Regions from separate parts of the Homo sapiens genome. Here all the other regions are linked to region 1. The links are contacts of gene promoters, found by promoter capture Hi-C in human tissues and cell types (Jung and others, 2019). All regions are on one chromosome and are shown on one strand. Each heading gives the region's core, a stretch centred on a gene start or on the middle of the fragment in contact. The rest is flanking DNA. Distances are from core to core; before and after follow the strand shown.

Region 1 (4,731 bases), core at 1,103-3,602:
AGGTGGGCAGATCACTTGAGGTCAGAAGTTCGAGAACAGCCTGGTCAACATGGCGAAACCCTGTTTCTACTAAAAATACAAAAGTTAGCCAGGCATGGTGGTGGGCACCTGTAGTCCCAGCTACTCAGGAGGCTGAGATAGGAGAATTGCTTGAACCCAGGAGGCAGAGGTTGCAGTGAGCTGAGATTGTACCACTGCACTCCAGCCTAGGTGACAAAGCAAGACTCCATTTAAAAAAATAATTGGTTTAGAGACAAATACTTTCTTAGTCTTCATTGGTATCAGATGACTGTATCCTCTCCTAGGGTGACAGCTGGTTTTGTGGCCACTGACCTGTTCCAGGGATCTGAAAGACCTTTCTGTATCACCGCTGAGGCACAGAGACATGCCTCACCCTCCTTCCAGGCATCCCCAAGTACAACCTCCCATCCCTATAAATATCAGGACTCAAGCCTCACCCTATTGTTTGGTACATGGGCTCCTAAAGCACCTTATAAGCACCCCATACCAGGTGCCCCTGATGTCTGGGCACAGCCTGATGGGACCTTGGTCCCTAGTGGAGGCCAAGGAGAATGAGGAAGCACTTGGGAAGTAGGGATGAGGGAGAGTGCTTAAGGAGGTCACCATTGCAAGAAAGGAGATGCCCACCAGTCACCTTTGTTGATCTTGCCTACAACAGAGGCCTCCAGCCATCGAGTGTTGTCTTGGCGAGAATAGAGGCCAAAGAGGACACCACCCTGCTTGGGGGGCAGGCGGAAGGTGGATAAGAGGTAGATGTCCCCAGCAGTGAGCAAGGCTGTCCGGATCTTCTCTGCCACAGCTACCATCTGCCGAGACTCGCCCACAGTCAGCAGGTCAATTACTGGTCAGGCAGGGGTTATCAAGGTTAGAGAATGGGATCAAATGCTAAGGTATGCCCTCCCCCGAGCCCACATCACCCCCTACCCCCACCACCAGGCAGCGTTAGTCACCTCAAAATTCAACCCTTGGCTGGGCATGGTGGCTCGCACCTGTAATCCCAACACCTTGGGAGGTTGAGGCAGGTGGATCGCCTAAGGTCAGGAGTTCGAGACCAGCCTGGCCAACACGGTGAAACCCCGTGTCTACTAAAAATACAAAAACAACAACAAAAAAGAAAAAAAAACCACCTAGCCGGGCGTGGTGGCGGGCACCTGTAATCCCAGCTACTCAGGAGGCTGAGGCAGGAGACTCGCTTGAACCTGAGAGGTGGAGGTTGCAGTGAGCCGAGATCGCGCCATTGCACTCCAGCCTGGGCAACAAGAGTGAAACTCCATCTCAAAAAGACAAAACGAAAACAAAAAAAAACCTCAACCCTTGTTGCTCTCAGAGGACAGAGGCACTGTGCCTTCCTTTCCCCATTATTGCCTATTACTACCTTCCAGGAACCTGCAGGTTTGAGACTCACTTGGAAACACAGAAACAGCACCCCACAAATTTGAGATGCCCCCACCAGGTGGCGCAAAGGAGATGCTGTGCTGATCCCCCACAGGAGTGGCACCTGGTGTCCACAACGTAGAAATGGAAGGCAGCTTCTCTTTCCACTCCTGGGTTTGGCTCGTTCCACACCCTAGTTCCCCTCCTCCCATCCTAGGGGCGCAGCACACTCGCTCTGGATAAGAACAGCTGCCCACTGAGGACTCTAACCCTCCCACCATCTGGGCTATCTCCCACGGGAATGTAGGACCCAGCTCCTCTGCCTCCTGTGTCCTGGCCAATCTGTGGTTTTCCCTCCAGCCAGTAAAGAATCTATGCCTGTGTCATCTGCTCCAGCTACCTCTCCCACATCCATCGGCCCATCCCACCACCAGACCTCCGGGAGAGCCCAGGCTTCTTGGTCCCCACCCCCGCCCTGTCCTTGGGCAGCCAGGAGCCCAGGGGGACGAAGCCCAGGGACCTACAGTACGCCCACCTTCAGGCTGCTCTCCCAGACCCTAGGGTGCCTACAGATGCTCAGGAACCACCCCAGCCAGGCAGCCTGAGCATCCAGTTCCTGAGTCCTCTGCCCTGGCCTCATGCCTGACCCTGTCCTGTTCCAGCTCCCCCACTACTCTCCGGTGCCCACTCCTCTCCACCAGGCCATAATTTCACCAACTCTAGGCAGTCTTAAGTTTTCCTCTGGCTCAATTTCTGGACTCTTCCCCTCTCCCCTTGCCCACATGTTCTCTGCTACTTGGGCTGAGGGCAAATGGGGAAGAAGCAGAGAGCGGTCTAAGAGGATGGAGACAGGCTTACCCTGCAGATCCTGACTGGCAGATGTGAAAAAGCAAAGGAGGAGAAGAGCCAGGGCCCCCCGAAGTTCCTGCGTCTCCATGCCTCTCAGCCGGCTCACTACCCCTGGCAGGCAGGCAGCTGGGAGGGGAAAAGGCTAGGCGGAGAGAGCAGGAGCCGGGGGGCGGAGGGACAGAATTGGAGGGGGGGCCAGCAGGCGGGTGAGGGGGGGCTGAAACAAAGAGCTGCCAATCACCCTGGAGGCATCATCAGCTCTGGGAACCAGGGGCACTGGGAAAGAATCCTGGAGGCCTCCCTGCTTTCTACCTCTCCCTAATGATCCTCCCCCAGGTGCCTCCCTCTCCGCAGTCATCATTGTTGGGGGTCTCGGCACACAGCGCTACCGAATGCCACTGTTTTCTGGAAGCCACGATTGTGGAAGGCAAGAACCCCTGGCAGGGGCAGTGCTAGACAGTGGGCATTATTCCACAGCTGGCAGGAAAGGATGCCAAGGGAGTGGCCGCAACTAGCTTGCTATAGTGCCCAGGGATGCCCACATGGCATGAATTTTGCTGTTCTGGCGGAGCAAGTGCTCTTTATTAGGGTGGGGGGTCCCCTGACAAGTGCCTGTTTCTCCATTTTCCCTCATTCGTAGGAAAGCTTGGGAGTCTGGAAGCGTCTGACGGGAACTGAAGGGAGAATCTAAAGCAGTGGTCAGTGAGGTCAGAGTGAAGAAACCAAAAAAGAGGAAAGGGACACCAGGGACAGGCGCAGAAGACCAGGGGTACAGGCGAGGAGCCAAGGACCAGACTGTGGAACACTGTGGGTACTAGCGGACGGGCCGTGACCCGGATGAAGCAGAGGGGCGCCTGAGTTCCCGTCACCTAAGCGACAGCCTGCGAGCCTCTCTTCCCCTCCCCCACCCAAGCCCCAGCCCGGCCTCCGCTCCGGCCGCCGCCACCGCCCCTGTTTTGTTTCCATGGCGACAGGCGGCGCAGGGCCCGCTCCAAACATAACGCGCTGTGGAAAACATGCTGCTCGGGGGACCCCCCCGCAGTCCCCGCTCGGGGACGAGCCCCAAGGGGCCCTGGAGCAGTACAGGCCACGTGCAGTTTGGCAAGAGCCCCCAGACCTGGCCCAGGCGCACAAGACCCCGCTCTCCAGAGCCTGCCGCGCCTTCAGGGGTTCGGGGCTCCACTTGGACGAGGCGCCGTGACTCTCCGAGGCGCGCCGGGCCGACAGCGCTGTCCCGCTACGTGGGCCACCTCTGGATGGGCCGGCGGCCGCCCTCCCCCGAGGCCCGCGGCCCAGTCCCCCGCAGTTCAGCTGCCAGTCGGGCCAGAAGAAGCCTCGCCTCCCCGGGGATCTCCCCAGGCCCCCTGACCGCAACGATCGGAGGGGCGGTGGCGGGGGGCGGGCCCAGGCAGGGGAGGGCAGAAGCACACAAGGAAGTGTTTCCGGGACAGAGGGTGGGCAAGATGGCGGCGCCCATGGAGCTGTTCTGCTGGTCAGGGGGCTGGGGGCTGCCGTCAGTGGACCTGGACAGCCTGGCCGTGCTGGTGAGGGGTGGCGCCGGCGCCCTCTGCTGTGCCCTGATGACTGGGGAGGGGGCCGAACTAGCCAAGCATCCAAACCTTGCCAGGGCTACTCAGCACGGGCGCAGTGGGGGAAACTGAGGCAGTCAAAGAGCGTACGTGGCCGATATGGCCTCAGTGCCCTATGCTGTAGTTTTCTAGGCTTAATGCAGCAATGAAAAGACGCCTGGTTGGGAGTTCAGGTGATGGGTTCTAGTCCTTGCTCATCCATTCACTGGCTGTGTGACCTTGCGGAGATCCTTTCTCTTTGGGCATTTTTTTTCTCCATTCGGAGGTTTACTAGGCTGGACTGTCTCAGGGACCTACTCTAGCTTGGAATTCCTGCCTTCTCCTCAGCCCCCTTCTCCTCTTCCTCCTCACTTAACAGCATTTACTGAGGCTATTGTTTGTTAGACCAAACGACTCACAGCCAGGCTTTGTATAAAGAGCTTAGCAATCAGACTTCCTTTGCTTCATTTATTCATTGACTCCTTGCTTTAAAGAGGATCTATTAGATTTCTTCCAAATATTAAACATTGCCAGGCAAAGATGAATAAAATTTGGTTCCTCCCTTCGAGTTTACAGAAAGGCAGATAGGTAAGCAAATAAATATAATAAAATATTCACATATAAGTTAAAGTAGGAACAGACCACAGATACTGCCAAAGAGAAGGGCATTATCAGTGCTTCCAAGAAGAGGGATACTGGTTAGGAAAAGCTTCTGAGGATAGATGTTCACCAGGTAGATGGCAAGAGAGGAGATAGAGGAAAGGATTTTCCTGGCTGTCCTGTAATCACAGACATGTCCGGAATCTCTCTGAGCCCTGTGTTGTCCATTTGTAAAATAGAAATGGTAGTGACTCCCCCTTTTTTTTCGAGACTAAGATACTAAGTATAGGGAATGGCACATAAGGTATTCAATAAATGT
Region 2 (4,731 bases), core at 1,561-4,060, 190 kb before region 1:
CCCTGCTCCCGGCGCTGAGTCATGGGGTCGTGGAGAAGGGGGCGGGGTGGCCTGATTGGCTCGCCTGCCCCTGGGGGCAGTAGAGGGGCCCCGCCCAGCTAGGGGAGCCGCTCCGTTCCACTCCCCTCCCTAGCCCTCCCTCCCCACGGCCCTGGGCAGGGAATGTCTTGTTCCCGCCGCTCCCTCCCCGGGGCCAGAGGGCAGGGCGGGCCGGGCGGCGTCCTACCCTCTTCTCCTCCTCCCCATCTCCTCCCCGCCCAGGTGCGAGCCGGAGCCGCCGCCACCGCTGCCGCCCCTGACTCACGCCGCCCCCGGGCTGGCGCAGCGAAGGGTGTGGGACAGGGTAAGGGGTTGGAAGAGCCTTGTGGAGAGCGGGCGAGCCGGCGCCATCTGGCGGCCATGCTCTGAGTGGGCGAGCGCCCCCCGCGGCCACTGGAGCGAGCTGTCTTCACGCTCCTCATCCACCCCAGCTGGTGAGCGGCGCCCCCTTGCCAAGGCAGTGGGCACAGAACTTCTCGCTTGGCCGCAGGGGAAGGGGCTGCGGACCTGTGGGAAAGTGATCCCCTTCCCAGATCCTTGCCAGCCGGGCTTCCTGTCAGGCAGGGGAGAATAATCCCCACTCTGCTCTTAGGATTGAATCCACCCCCATTCTGTACATAGCCTCTTCTGTTGGTCTTGTTGAAATCTAGTTTCAGATTTTTAACTACCCAATTCTGCTGGGGGTGGGGGACACCCCCCCTTCCTCGCTGGGTGCTGGACCCCTTTTGCAGCCTGGGCTCTGCCTTGCACTATTTCCCCTTCCTGGCCTGACGGCTCCTCCCCCTCCTTAAAAGGGGCAGGTTCAGGGGCCCGGTGCTCTTCCTCCCTTCCATGCACCCCCATGCCCATTTGCACAGCTGCCCAGGTACCCCTAACAGTGGGGAGGGGTCACAGGGAGGGGGTAGCGGGACCAGTCCCTGTTATCTATTTAAAAAGTGATGATGTAATATATTGGGGTGGCGGGGAGATCGGGTTGTCCTGGGCCTCATCTTAGCATTTCAGGTGATGGGGGGAGCCCAGGGCTGGGGAGACCTGGGGCCCAGCCCCAGAAAGTGGGGACAATGTGGCCTCCCTTCTCCCTACTTTCGGCTTTCCCAGTCAGTGCCTTAGGGGGAGAGGCACTCCCCCCCTCCTATTCCCTTCCCCCCACCCCAACTCCCCCACCTCGGGTGTAAGCGACAGGAAGAAATAATAATAATTTAAGATTCACACTTGTGTCCACTTTTGGTTTATTTGGGGGGTGGGTGGGAAGGATCAGGAAGAGAGGGAGGTGAGAGAGGGACTGAGGGTTCTGAAGCTGGAGTGGGGGCTCCTTTAGTGGCGGAGGATGTCTCAGGTGGTCTGTGGGGCTCAGGGCTGGTGAGAATGCTGACAGGCTGATGGGCTTCAGGTAAGGGCTGCTGCCCGTGCTTCCTCTGCTGAGGCCCCTTCTCCTCATCCAGGTCACTAGTGAGGAGAGGAAGGGGGTGGCCGGATCACCCACCTTCTGTCTTCACAGGTGCATCCCTGCCCCCTGCCCTGCCCCATCTGTTCAGATCCAGCTCCTGTTCTTTCTGAGCAACTCCTGCTCTCTCAGGCCCACGAGGCGTACCAGCCCATGGCTGTAGATATTTTCTGATTTTAGGCTGATGCTGGGGGGTGGGCAGTGACTTGCCTGAGGCCACATGGCTAGGAAGGGCAGAATCACTAGTGACCTCAGTAGTCACACCTGCTCAAGGCTCAAGCTGTCCCCTCTGCTGACCCAGCTTATCCTTTCACTGGGCCCTCTAGAACCTCTGAAAAGAAAGCTTTGCTTCCCCTTCAACCTCTTGACTCATCATGACCTCTACCGCCCCATTCACACTGGAATGTGCCCACTGGACAGTTTTCTTTGCAGTCCTCCCAAGAGGAGGCAGCTTAACCTTCTCAAACCCAGCTGGCCCGTAGTGTTTTTTTGCAAAGCCCCTGGCTGCCATGATAGCTGTACCACCAGTGCTGTGGCTGTCTCCTCAGGCCTGCCAGACACCTGCCACATCTGTTTAAGATGCCGGCTCTGGACTCCTGCTGTTTGTATGGTCCTGCAACCTCGTCGCTAGAGGACCCACCCAATTCTCTGGCCTCTCAATCCCTAACCTCCTTGGTTCTATTGACCGTCATCTCTGTTCCCACTCAGACGTCTTCCTCAGCCTTGGCCTTTCACTGGATTCATTCCAGAGTTCTTCCCTGGCCATGGCCCCCTCTCTGAGTCCCTCCTGTTCAGCCAGCTCTCCCTCCTGGCCACTGCCCCTGCTCTAACACGTCATCAAGACAGAGACCCTGGGCTGCCCCCAGGGGCCTTAGCCCCTCCTCTTCCCCAGTCATCTCAGACACTCTTACCAAAGACACCTCAATTCTCACTCCATCTTGTCCTCCTGACCTGCCCAGAAAAAGCCCTCCACCTGTGAATCCTATTCATGGCTACCACATTTGCCAGAGAAAATCACATAACTGAGCGCACTGGAGCAATCATTACAAGTTACAGCTTCCAGCATCATCTGGGCCTTTGACGCTACCTGGAAATCCCTTAACCTCCCTAGTCGGCTTCTTTGCACACTTGCCACGGCAGGTCTTTCAACCTCTACCACCCACTCCTTGAAACCTTTATTCCACTCCCAGCTGCCTGCTCTGCTCTCTCAGCAGGTGCTCTTGCCTCCTACTCCCCAAAGAGAAGCGAGGCCACCAGGCTGGAGTGGGCTCAGCTGCTCAGGGGAACCTATACTCTCCCCCTCTGCCTCTGCCAGCCTGCTCCTTTCTCAGGCAGGCCACCTGGTCCACCTGGCCCTGGAGCCCAAACCTCCCTCCCCAACGTGCTTTTACACTGCCTAAATGCTCAAATCTTCCTGTTCTTAGATCTAGAAAACCCTTTTAGTGCTGAATCCCCTTCAAGCTACTTTCTTGCTCTGTGAAGCTAACTCTCTCTTTCTCTTCACCATCAAGCTTACATTTTTTTCAAACTACAGCACTCATTAGATTAAAAGCATTATCAAACTCCTGGCAACAGTGATGCAGGAGCCACATACCATATTTCTGAGTCCTTTTATTATTTATTTATTTTGAGACAGAGTCTTGCTCTGTCGCCCAGGCTGGAGTGCAGTGGCACGATCTCGGCTCACTGCAACTTCCGCCTCCCGCGTTCAAGTGATTCTTCTGCCTCAGCCTCCCAAGTAGCTGGGATTACAGGCGCCTGCCACCATGCCTAATTTTTTGTATTTTTAGTAGAGACAAGGTTTTACCATGTTGGCCAGGCTGGTTTCAAACTCCTGACCTCAAGTGATCTGCCCGCCTCAGCCTCCCAAAGTGCTAGGATTACAGGCGTGAGCCACCACACCCAGCCTTTCTGAGTCTTCTTTACCTGACACCCCTCAACCCATCATGACAGATCCAGTTTTGGTCTTCCCGATGCCATGAAAAATATTCCCACAAGCTACTCCAGTGATGTCTTAACTGCCTGTCACCTGTCTTCACATGATCCTACTTGATTTTTTTTTTTTTAATCTTCTAATTTTTTGAGACTGGGTCTTGTACTATTGCCCAGGCTGGAGTGCAGTGGTGCAATCTTGGCTCACCGCAGTCTCAGCCTCCCTGGCTCAAGTGATCCCTCCCACCTTAGCCTCCTGAAAGCTGGGACTAAAGATGCACGCCACCATGCCCAGCTAATTTTTGTATTATTACCTATTTATTTATTGAGACCAATCCTCCCTCTGTCACCCAGGCTAAAATGCGGTGGCACAATCTTAGCTCCCTGCAACCTCCACCTCCCAGGTTCAATCAATTCTCCTGCCTTAGCCTCCTGAGTAGCTGGGACTAACAGGTGCGTGCCACCACTCCTGGCTAATTTTTGTATTTTTAGTAGAGATGGGGTTTCACTATGTTAGCCAGGCTGGTCTCGAACTCCTGACCTTAAGTGGTCCTCCCGCCTCAGCCTCCCAAAGTGCTGGGATTACAGGCGTGAGCCACCATGCCCTGGCAAGTTTTTGTATTTTTAGTAGAGATGGAGTTTTGCCATGTTGCCCAGGCTGGTCTCGAACTCCTGGACTCAAGTGATCGGCCCACCTCGGCCTCCCAAATTGCTGAAATTACAGGTGTGAGCCACTGTGCCCATCCCCCTACTTGATTTCATATGTTTGGCTCTCCTGCTTTCTTGAGCCTCTCCCCTCCCTGTCCCCTCCCACTCTCCTGCCATGCCCTCTGCCAGGATGATCTAGCTCATCCTCTCTCTTACAGTCTCTAACTTAACCCCCCAAAAATATACCTCCAGCCCGGATCCCTGCCCTTTTCTAACTGCCCCCCTGGGCATCTCCAGCTGGATGCCCTACAGACACCTCAAAGATCTCAAACTGGGCCAGTCGTCTTTCCCCAGAACCTGTTTATCTTCCTGCCCTAACACCTGCCCAGGCCCAAGCATAGAAATCCCAGTCACGCTCAGCACTTCAGTACTGAGGCCATCACGAACTTCTCCTAGACTAAGACAAGCTTCTCTCTGACCTCCCTGCTCCTGCCCAACCTCCACTCTGCCTTCTTTGCTTATGGTCTTTTTTTTTTTTTTGGAGACTGAGTCTCACTCTATCATCCAGGCTGGGCTGGAGTGCAGTGGTGTGATCTTGGCTCACTGCAATCTCTGCCTCCTGGGTTCAAGCAATTCTCCTGCCTCAGCCTCCCGAGTAGCTGGGACTA
Region 3 (4,731 bases), core at 1,643-4,142, 130 kb after region 1:
TTTGCTTCTGTTCTCGCATTTTACAAAGTTTTTTTTTCTTTTTCATCTTTTTTAAAATTTTAGTGTTTAACACTATAAAGGAAACATTGAATTTTAATCTCTTTCTTGTCATTTTCTCGCTTTTGACTAAAAGGAGACCCCCAAAGTGCCCCTAGTCCCACCTCCCTCCCACCCACTCCCTGCAATGAAAAACAAAAGAAACCACTCAAACGGGCTTGGACATGCGATTTTTCCAGCTCCACATGTGAGTATCTTATACCCAGGTCTCTTAGTAATGTACAGTGCTTCTCTACAGTAAGAAAATACTCCAAACTATTTTCTTAATTCTCTTTTTTCTTTAATAAAATATTTATTTTGCTTTTTCTCTGCTCAAGGGGATCATTGGCATCCCCTCTCTCTTTTGTTTTTTCCTCAAGAATGACACAGAAAGGGGAAAAAGGAAAAAATATTTAATGGAATGGAAGGTGGTCAATGTGTCTACCTAAACGAGTCAGAGCATCGTCACCATAAGGGGAAATGTACAATTAGGACAGCATTGGTCCAATATTAGAAAAAAGTAATGGGGACATGTTTACTATTGTATTGCTTACCAATCACACAGCAGGTGTGTGTGTGTGTGTGTATATATATACACACACACATATATATATACACACACATACACACATATATATACACACACACACACAACTTGGCACATTTAAAAACCATCTTTTCTCTTATAAGAACATCTAAAACATATATGCATATGTATGTCTGAAAAGACAACAAAGCTTTTTAAATTTTATTTTTAAAGAGACAGTATAGTCTGTTAACTTCTGGTCAAGAGAGTAGGAAGGAAGGAGACACCCTGGATATACCTCCTGATGTCATTCAGGAGGGTGAGGGAAGATGGGCTAGGGGTGAAGAGAAATATACTGTCTCTTTAAGAAAGGGACATTGAAAACTGTACAATTAAGAAAACAAGAGTAGTGTTTTCAATTGATAATCTATACTCACAACAAATACTCTGATAGGTGAATACTGCTGAACAGTTTATGTAGTGACTTTTGTTGCAGGGGTGGGTTTAGAGTTCTTTTTATGTAGGTTTTTAAATGATTTTATTTTGAACTGAATCTCCATTTGCACAGCACAGCAGACACACAAGAACTACAGCGCATTAAAAACAGCATGTGTGCTGGCGGGGGCCTGGCTTTCTCATTAGAAAAAAATATGTTTGACAGGTTATGAAGGGTAAAACAAAAATAATTGCAAGAACTACCGTGCCCTTCTGACCCCATGGGGGCCTTCCCTATCCCATGATTCCATTTTGGGGAGTAGAGGTAGGGAGGGGGCAGCAGTTACAAGTGCTTTGAGCTGTCAACTCACATTTTACTTTGACCTGGTTGGGCAAGAAAGGAGAGACAAACTTCCCTAGTCAGGTATCTAGGAAGAAGCCTCAGCTACTGTTTCTGTTTAAGGTCTCTGGGGTAGCTCTTGGAGCCAACAGAGAATAGATGGGGTAGGAATAGGGATCCTGGCCCTATCCCTTTGGATTTTGAGTTATACCTGGGTATAGGAAGCAGCTTCTTCGCAATGCCTGTGGGATCTGAGGATGACAGAAAAACCTAAGCTGTGGGGTGGGGCAAATGCTATAAAGTACCAGTAGGTTCTGGTCATCAATGTGGTCCTCCCTCCTCTCTACATTATTAACCCTTAAGGTGAAGCAATGGAGAAGAAAATTAATTAACCTGAACTGTCTTGGACAGAACCCTTTCCTCTCCCTCTCCACTAGCTCCAAGGCTTATTAAGTACCTAATGTCAACAACATGGCCCCATTCCCCTTGCCCAGATGGACCCTTCCCACCCCTGTCTATACCCAGAGAGCAGGAGGCAGGACTGATTAGCTCCACTGGATCCCAGATGCTTGAGGTTCTCATTCTTTGAGGGTCACTTTCGAAAGCTGTTTTCTGGGATAAACAAAGTACGCCTTCGCAGTTTCCTGCCTGATCCTTCCTCCAGCAAGTAGGTCACATCAATGGCTGAAAACAGAACCAAGGAGGCTCATCAAAATACCAATCTCCTACTCCTTATTCCAGATTTGAGCTCTAAGGAGAGCACACGAACTCAATGATTCCTTTTCTGACCTATAAGCAATTTAGCCCATCCTCCAACCCTACGTGAAAAAGGTGGTTCTTTAGAGGAGATCATCTCACCTTCCAGTTTCACTACCAAGATACAACTAAAAGCAAGCCTATAAAAGAACTATACCATTTTCTTAGAATACTTTGGATGCTGAACCAGTAATTACAATTTTTTTCCATTCCCTCTCATTTCGCATTTATCTTAAACCCTAGATATGAACCTGATTCTTCTTACCATTTTTTCCAGGGATTTTTTCAAGGAGATTGAGCAAGATCTGGTTGAGTCGTTCCCGTTGGTTATGCCGTCGTTCCTCAGGGGTACAGGTTGACTGGGGTTCTTGACTACTTTCCTCTGTTTTTTTTTCACCCTCACTGACGTTAGCAGTGGCCCCTTCCCGTTCTGGCTCCTCCAGGCTGGGTATCTCATTGGCTGCTTGCTCTTGACTGGCTAGAACCTCTTCAATCAAGGGTAGAGCATCATCCTCCTGGCCCAAGTCTTTTAGGGGTGGCTTTGAGCGCTCAGACTTCCAGGATGATCTGCCAGAAGGATATCTGAATTTAGTGTAAGACACTTGAGGAGGAAAAGGGGATGAAGGGTAGGAGGCCTCAAGATGGCTTGAGATCCTGGAGTCCAGCAGTTAGAGCCTTAGCTTGAGGTAAGAAACTTGACTCTCGTTTTCACTTTATATTATTTGAATAAAACACTACCTTTACCAGAAATTTATTTGTAAAATTCAACTTTTATTATTTCTCTTAGGAATATTCACAAATGGTATAGGAATCCATAAAATATACAAGGGCTAATAAAATTGCTTAGCTGGTTCTAAATGACTGCTTCATGACTAGAGAAGCACGGCACAACCTTGTGATGCCAATAATCCAACTACAATAATAAATATTTAAATGGAGTTTTAAATTTTCGTGCTTCCCTTTTTCATATCAATAGTCTAATATTTTCTCCCTTATGGTAAGCTATTGGTGTAGGTAAAGCAGTTGTTATGCCCCCATTCAACAGATGAGGAGACTGAAGAAAAAGCCTTCTGTCATCTTTCTTCAGGAATAATCCTCACGTACAAAATAAGCAAAAATAAAAACTATGAACCCATAGTTCATAGCTCAGTGAAAACTGTACTGGCTACATCTGTTCCTTGATAGAGGTACCAAGAGCTGATATACCTTGAGGTAATGGGGAAAGCTTACAGACATCTAAAAGAAACTTTTCTGAGTCTGGAGTTCTGTTCCAAATCTCTGTCTCTACTCCCTGCACATCTCTCTGTTGCTCCAATTAAGGCTCCATAATGGGACCACATCTACTGAAATTTAGTTCTTCCATAGTGCTGGCACTACACTGGGCTACTCTGCAGAGAATACCCAGTCCTAGAAGTGGAGCTGAGTGGGTAGTTGTTTGTTTTCTTGATCCATTCAAGCTCTTAGTCAATCCCTTAGGATCCTCATATCCCCCCATGGGACTTACCGTCCTCCATTCCTCTTGTAGTTGTCTGGGACGTAATGAGGCTGCAGAGAAGAAAAGGAAGAGGTAAGCATATTGTAGAAGCTGGGAGAGCTAGCTCTTCTCTGGGGCCAGTCAGGATAAGGAACACAGTAGGGCAGTAGACAAGTTGGGTGACTTTGTTTTAAGATGAGAAATTTAGTACTTCTATGAATATGCAGGCCACAATGATTATCAGCATTTTGTGCTCCCAGGATGACAATGGGAGGGATAAGTGCACAATTTTCTCTATCCCATTTCACCTTTTAAATACAGTCATATGTCGCTTGGGGTCATACGGGGATATGTTCTGAGAAATATGTCATCACGTGATTTGATTGTTATGTAAACATCATAAAGCATCCTTACGCAAACCTAGATAGTATAGCCTACTATACACCTAGGCTATTTAGTATAGCCTATTGCTCCTAGGCTACAAGCCTATATATACAGCACAATACTGTACTGAATACTGTAGGCAGTTGTAATACCATGGTAAGTATTGTGTATCTAAACATAGAAAAGGTATTACATTGCAGTATGTTACGACAGCTATGACATCACTAGATGATAGGAAGGAATTCTTCAGCTCCATTATAATCTTACGGGATCACCGTTGTATATGCAGTCCAATGTTGACTGAAACATGTTGCACATGACTGTAGTTAAGGCTGGGGTTTCAAAGCTAGTCAGTAAGCTATTGATTGAGCAAGCAAAACCAAATAAGTCTAGATGCGAGGAAAGACCTGGTGGTGGGCAGAGAATACAAAAGACGGTCTGGAAAATTAAAAAAAAAAAATAGGGAAAATAGGAACATATTGCTTTGTTTTCTGGTTAGCTTATTTTTCTTTCTTTTTATTTTTTGAGAGTCTTGTCCTGTTGCCAGGCTGGAGTACAGTGGTGCGATCTTGGCTCACTGCAATCTCTGCCTCTGGGTTCAAGCGATTCTTCTGCCTCAGCCTCCTGAGTAACTGGGATTACAGGTGCATGCCACCATGCCCGGCTAATTTTTGTATTTTTAGTAGAGATGGGGTTTCACCATGTCGACCAGGCTGGTCTCAATCTCCTGACTTTGTGATCCACCCGCCTCAGCCTCCCAAAGTTCTGGGATTACAGGTG

What was found. Contacts are between HindIII fragments. The study calls those that stand out against the background at their distance.
Region 2: a contact is called between a fragment that was not itself captured here and the fragment with the promoter of THBS3 in region 1, in 3 of the 25 tissues and cell types used here (dorsolateral prefrontal cortex, mesendoderm cells and spleen).
Region 3: a contact is called between a fragment that was not itself captured here and the fragment with the promoter of THBS3 in region 1, in 1 of the 25 tissues and cell types used here (neural progenitor cells).

The regions. Positions count from the first base shown.
Region 1 is chr1:155,205,545-155,210,275 of GRCh38, forward strand. THBS3 (thrombospondin 3) reads right to left here and starts at 2,353. Exons shown (of 23, transcript NM_007112.5): 1 at 2,254-2,353; 2 at 656-862. The coding sequence starts at 2,332. MTX1 (metaxin 1) reads left to right here and starts at 3,151. Exons shown (of 8, transcript NM_002455.5): 1 at 3,151-3,788. The coding sequence starts at 3,261. RefSeq lists an enhancer at 1,354-2,137 and a silencer at 3,501-3,700. The HindIII fragment of the contact is 12,638 bases long and covers 1-3,705 here.
Region 2 is chr1:155,017,276-155,022,006 of GRCh38, forward strand. It overlaps DCST2 (DC-STAMP domain containing 2), which reads right to left. Exons shown (of 15, transcript NM_144622.3): 15 at 1,252-1,485. The coding sequence ends at 1,269. ZBTB7B (zinc finger and BTB domain containing 7B) reads left to right here. Exons shown (of 3, transcript NM_001256455.2): 3 at 1-1,248. Among named protein-coding and RNA genes, the nearest start is that of DCST2, 14 kb to the right of the region's middle. RefSeq lists an enhancer at 1-144, a silencer at 41-510 and a cis regulatory region at 72. The HindIII fragment of the contact is 3,850 bases long and covers 886-4,731 here.
Region 3 is chr1:155,335,731-155,340,461 of GRCh38, forward strand. It overlaps ASH1L (ASH1 like histone lysine methyltransferase), which reads right to left. Exons shown (of 28, transcript NM_018489.3): 26 at 3,598-3,638; 27 at 2,359-2,660; 28 at 1-2,021. The coding sequence ends at 1,930. Among named protein-coding and RNA genes, the nearest start is that of MIR555, 8.3 kb to the right of the region's middle. The HindIII fragment of the contact is 5,423 bases long and covers 182-4,731 here.